Linked DNA regions of Homo sapiens: region 2 is linked to region 1. The links are contacts of gene promoters, found by promoter capture Hi-C in blood cells and fetal thymus (Javierre and others, 2016). All regions are on one chromosome and are shown on one strand. Each heading gives the region's core, a stretch centred on a gene start or on the middle of the fragment in contact. The rest is flanking DNA. Distances are from core to core; before and after follow the strand shown. Region 1 holds the start of SP8 (Sp8 transcription factor). Region 2 has its middle 9.6 kb from the start of IGF2BP3.

Region 1 (2,700 bases), core at 141-2,640:
CCACCGAATTTGAACTAAGTGTATCTATTAACATGCACACACACTCATAGACAGATCTCTGGCCCAATCGCCATTAGACACTGACGCCTGGATAAATGTCCAAGATTTGTCAAAAGCTCCTCTCTATTCTTAGATAAATAGAACCCATATATTTCGATCAAAGTCCTGATTCTTTTCTCAGAAAGAGGCAGTGAGGTTTTCTGTGAAAATTTCTAAATTCCGTAAAACGCTCTTCAATTTCTTACCCAAAGAAAAAACGACCCTCGCTTACTCTCTTCTCTATCTAATCCTTTTGTATTGAAATTTACTCAACACCACGGGACACACACACCTCCTCCCCTAGAGTGAGACGTGCACTTCTAAAGCAGAATTCCACCTCAGGGAAAAAAAAAAAAAAAAAAAAAAAAAAAGCCACGGCATCAAAGAAACAACTCATGGGCGCGCAGGCGCGCATCCACGTCCCAACGCATCCCTAAAAATAACCCTTAGCCTCTCAACCTTTCTACTATTTCGTTGGAGAGCCGGGAAAGAAAAGGTGGGTTTAAAGATCTTCTTCAAAAATGTAGTGACGCTGTTTACCAAGTTAAGAAAAAAAAATCACTCAAGATTTTAGGTACAAGGAGCCAAAGGAAGTTGGCGACAGGGGCAGCGTTTGTGAATATTTATTCACTCAGCCTCCATCAACTTAGTCGGTTTCTCTCTTCAGCTCGACAGTCTCTCTCTTACAAACACACACTTTATTGCATTGTTCCCATTCCCCACTACCAGCTTTGGTGCGCGCACACAACACAAGCGCCCACACACACCCTTCCCTCTTCTCTGTCGCACAAATACACATGTTCACAGCCCTCCTTCTCCCCCAACACCAAACACACTCACCCCCCACCCAGTTGAGTCCCTCTTCCCTCCCTAGGTTTGTCAGTTACACTACCGTACACTCACACCCTTCCCAACACTTAACTGCTCTGTCCCTCTACCCCGCTTTGTCGCACACGCAGTTATCTTATCACACAACCCTCCCTTTTCTGCACTCTCTCCACTCCCCGCCTTTACCACACTGTCACTGTTACGGTGTCACACCCCCATCCCCCCTCCCTCCAGTCTCCGCACTGTCCTCTCCTACGCCTGGTCACACTCGCACACAGTTACATTGTTACACACACACTCATACACGCGAGCGCGCGCTTTGCGCTTTGTAACACACGCAGCCGCCCCCGCCCCCTCCGCTCCCACTCCCCCTTCCACCACGGCGGCAGGCGGCGGCGCCGATGACCTCACGGCGCGCGCGCCGCGCGGCCCGGCGAGGCCGCAGATTGGCTGGCCGCGCCTCCGCGGCACTTCAAAGCCGGAGAGGGAGCTACAATTGTGGTGGAATGGGCGGAACTGATCATTGTATTGCACACCTCTAAAAAAAACACTGCCTCTGATTTATCAATATAAAAAAGATCCTCTGAGAGGAGGAGGGCACTTTTGTGTGATGGCAACTTCACTTCTAGGGGTGAGTCTCAGGATTTTCTCTTGCTGGTTTAATTAGTTTCCTTTTATTGCCGATTGGAGGGGGTTAAAGTCGCCCCGGCCAGGCCACGGGCTATCAGTCTCTCTATTGAGAGCTTTTTTTTTTTTTCTTTAAATACAAGTGAGTTTGGAGAAAAGAAAAAGGGGGAGAAGGGGGCAGAGTCACTTTTTTTCAGCGCAGGAAAAGGTTCGAAGGGCATTTAGACAAGCCACCGCGCAGCGCCTCGCTGCTCCCTGCCCGGGAGACCTGCGTCCAGCCCATTTTACAGGCACCGATTTCGGGGGTAAAGAGAGCAAGTTTTTCCTTCTGGGCAAAGTGCAGATTCTTCCCCTAACCCTTAAAAAAAAATTCTGCAGCCCGCCTTGTCTCGCAGGTACGTTGAACTCGTCTCGTTTTTACTACTGTAGATATGCTTTTAAAAAAAGAAAGAAAGAAAAGCAGGAAGAAAGAGTGAGCCCTACAGTTTGATTTCTTTTGGCCTGGGAGAAACAACCCAGGATGGGTTTCTGGGGACCCGAACAGGTTTTTCAAAGCTCTCCGGATTACAGGGAAGCGCTCTTAAAAGCAATCCAATGGTTTTCCCCCAGGCTTCTCGGCAAAGAAAACTTCCTTCCTCTCCAATCTGGACTTTTTGCTTGTTTGTTACGAAGTGTCTGGGGCTTTGTGTGCAAGAGAGTGTTGTTTTAGGTGAGAATACTTGTCAAACTCTTCTTTAGCGTGGTGCTTGCTCCCGAATCAGACGCCGGCAGCCAAACTTGTCCCCTCCTGTAGAGTAGGAAGCGGCCGGGCGCCGGGGCTGTTGGGGGTGCCAGGTGAGTTGGTGGCGGCGCGCCGCAGCGAGAGATGGGGTGCAGTGGGGCGCTTTGGAGGCTACCGAAGGACTGATGCACATTTCTTCCTTTCCTCCCCCACCGGCCCTTTGCCCACCTCCCCTCCCCCACTCCTTCTCCTCTCCTCCTCGCAGGAAGAACCGAGGTTGGGATCGACTCCTCTGGCCATGCTTGCCGCTACCTGTAATAAGATAGGCAGCCCCAGCCCGTCTCCCTCCTCCCTCTCGGACAGCTCTTCTTCCTTCGGCAAAGGCTTCCACCCCTGGAAACGCTCCTCGTCCTCTTCTTCCGCCAGCTGCAACGTAGTGGGTTCCAGTCTCTCAAGCTTCGGCGTGTCCGGGGCCTCCAGGAACG
Region 2 (2,700 bases), core at 20-2,519, 2.7 Mb before region 1:
AGAGTACATGGATAAAATATAGAGATATACAGACAATTGATAAACATAAACTACTAGGTTTGTTACATCTAAATGAAGAAAAAGGGGGGGACTCTCAGCCTCTGCAAGAAGCGGTCGGGAGCTGTGTGAGTGAAAAGGCAGGAGTGCACTGGTTGTGTGAACGCGGTGGGAATTTGAGTTGTGGAAGACATTGTTGTAGCGAACCAGGCCTGAAGGCCCACCTGTAAGGGTTGTAAACGTGGATTCACAGTGTGAAATTCTGAGCATTTTCACTTGGGTCAGAATGATTAAAAACTGGTTTGATGATACCTATTTGTCCACTGTAAATTCTCTAAAGCAAGGCTCAGAGTCCCATAGTTTCCTCTTATACTTAATGATTTACACAGAAAAAAATCCCATATATGGTACCATGACCTCATGAATACCCATACACCGTATGTAATACAAATGGAGGTGTTACGATTAAAAAAAGTGGAGGTAACTGATTCTTGGGGAGCGGAGTTCACTGCTGCCCAGTAGAGTCAGGGAGGCAGCGTTTGTCTCATCGTTCTTCTTGTAGTTCACTTCCTTTGGGACAGGAAGTCTTCCCTTAGGAAGCCTTCCCTCCATGTCCTTGTTTGGAAATGGTTCTTGACTGACCCAGAGAAAGAGTTCTGGGTAATAAACCATTTTGAGAATCTTAGTCTTGGCTTCTATTCTCCCTCTCTTCAGTCCAGGGAGACCAACAGACAAAAGCCCCGCTCCCTGTTCACTCTCCTCTCTACACCTGAAACACAAATGTGGTTGAAAAAGGGCAACATGCTAGAAAAACAGCTTGGGGGGGAGGGCGAGACGGGGTTTCAACATGTTGGCCAGGCTGGTCTCGAACTCCTGACCTCAGGCGATCTGACTGCCTCGGCCTCCCACAGTGCTGGGATTACAGGCGTGAGCCACTGCGCCTGGCTGTCAGTTAGCTTTTAATAGGTTATATTCCAAGCTTTCATGGAAAAGTTAGAAAAGGACCATGTTTTAATCCACAGATATCTGATTTTTATAAAACAACTTTAACAGTCTTCAGTTTAACTTTCTTTTTTTCTTTTTTGGAGATGGAGTCTCGCTCTGTTGCCCAGGCTGGAGTGCAGTGGCACCAACATGGCTCACTGCAACTTCTGCTTCCCAGGTTCAAGCAATTCTCCTGCCTCAGCCTCCCAAGTAGCTGGGACTACAGGTGCGTGCCACCACACCCAGCTGATTTTTATATTTTTAGTAGAGACGGGGTTTCACCATATTGGCCAGGCTGGTCTCGATCTCCTGACCTTGTGATCCGCCTGCCTCAGCCTCCCAAAGTGCTTGGATTACAGGCATGAGTCACTGCGCCCGGCTCAGTTTAACTTTCAAGTTTTTGAATTTACTCAAAAGAAACATGGGAAAAAACCTTTAAAAACAAAATAATTGTATTTTATATTATATAGTTACATTAAACAAAACCACAAATAGATTTTTATCATAATTAGTAATAACTGCATATTAACAATACTTTCAAGTTTTTACTTTGTTACAGGTTTTAAAGACTATAAGCTTGATCACTGGATTTGGTTGTAAGAAGATACTCTAAATTTTAGCTTAATCCAGAGTTCCATAAATCTGATGTTTTTATTTTTTTTGCTTATATATCCTCTCTGTGCTTCACTGTAATATATTTATTTCTATTAATTGCCACATCCAGAGAGTAACTCAGCTTATTACTATGTTAGCAGAACATTGCCATAGGTAAAGAAAGAAGATAAATGCATCACTTATTTTAACAAAGATAAACTTTTTTTTGTTTTTGTTTTGGTTTGTTTAAAAAGCAATGGGCATTCTTCATCCATTTAGAGGCTCAAAGTGTTAAAATGTTTGGTTATCCTAATACAATATGACTTCCCCTCACTTTGCAATGAAATAATTTAAGGATATTTAATAAACAAGGAAATAATTATTTTAAAGAATAACAGGAAGGGGCTATCATTTGACTGAAATAATATTCTTCATTTATAGCAACTTAAAACTTTGTTGGTAGTCATTCCTGAAGCAACATTACAGTTTAATCTCAGCTCTCCTAACCCCCAATAAAGACAGTAAATAACAGGACCCACACTTCACTTAAATCTGAGTTTTCTCTCCTTATTTAAGTTTCAAAAACCATTGTTGTTTTCACGACAAGAACAGACCAGTATCTATCTTTAGCTCTTTTTTTATAGAGACATTTTTTCAAATAACACTGCTTATTTTGATTAATGTATCTATTATGGATAATGTACACAAATAGAAGTGGTAGAACAATCCAACAGAAAGGATTTGTGATAACTTCATATTTTCGAGATAAATTTAACTTCAAAATATGTGACCCGTATTATTTCTACCAATTTTTAAACTGCTTACGTTCATGTTTTAATAATGTTGATGGATGTTTTATATGTATAATACTAACTACATATATTTTAAATAGAAAACGAGTTATAGAAAGACATAAAATGGAAAACACATTTATATGATGTAAGTTCTAATGGTGATATACTAGTAGCATCGTAATTTCAGTTCAATCTATACTGTTTTGTTAGTCTTATCTCCCCAGCTTTAAAGACATCATACTGAAGTATTCTGATGGTTAAGAAAACACTTTAAAAGTAGTGCTTGCCTTGCTTGTTTTAACCTGCAACCTCAGAATTTGAACACAAGTTC

The links. The method cuts DNA at HindIII sites, captures the fragments that hold promoters and counts their contacts. A CHiCAGO score of 5 or more calls a contact.
Region 2: a contact is called between a fragment that was not itself captured here and the fragment with the promoter of SP8 in region 1, in 1 of 17 cell types (naive B cells). The highest score is 5.5, in naive B cells.

What each region holds. Positions count from the first base shown.
Region 1 is chr7:20,785,576-20,788,275 of GRCh38, reverse strand. SP8 (Sp8 transcription factor) reads left to right here and starts at 1,390. Exons shown (of 2, transcript NM_182700.6): 1 at 1,390-1,498; 2 at 2,481-2,700. The coding sequence starts at 1,478. The HindIII fragment of the contact is 6,810 bases long and covers 1-2,673 here.
Region 2 is chr7:23,478,722-23,481,421 of GRCh38, reverse strand. It overlaps the pseudogene LOC389473. Among named protein-coding and RNA genes, the nearest start is that of IGF2BP3, 9.6 kb to the right of the region's middle. The HindIII fragment of the contact is 581 bases long and covers 979-1,559 here.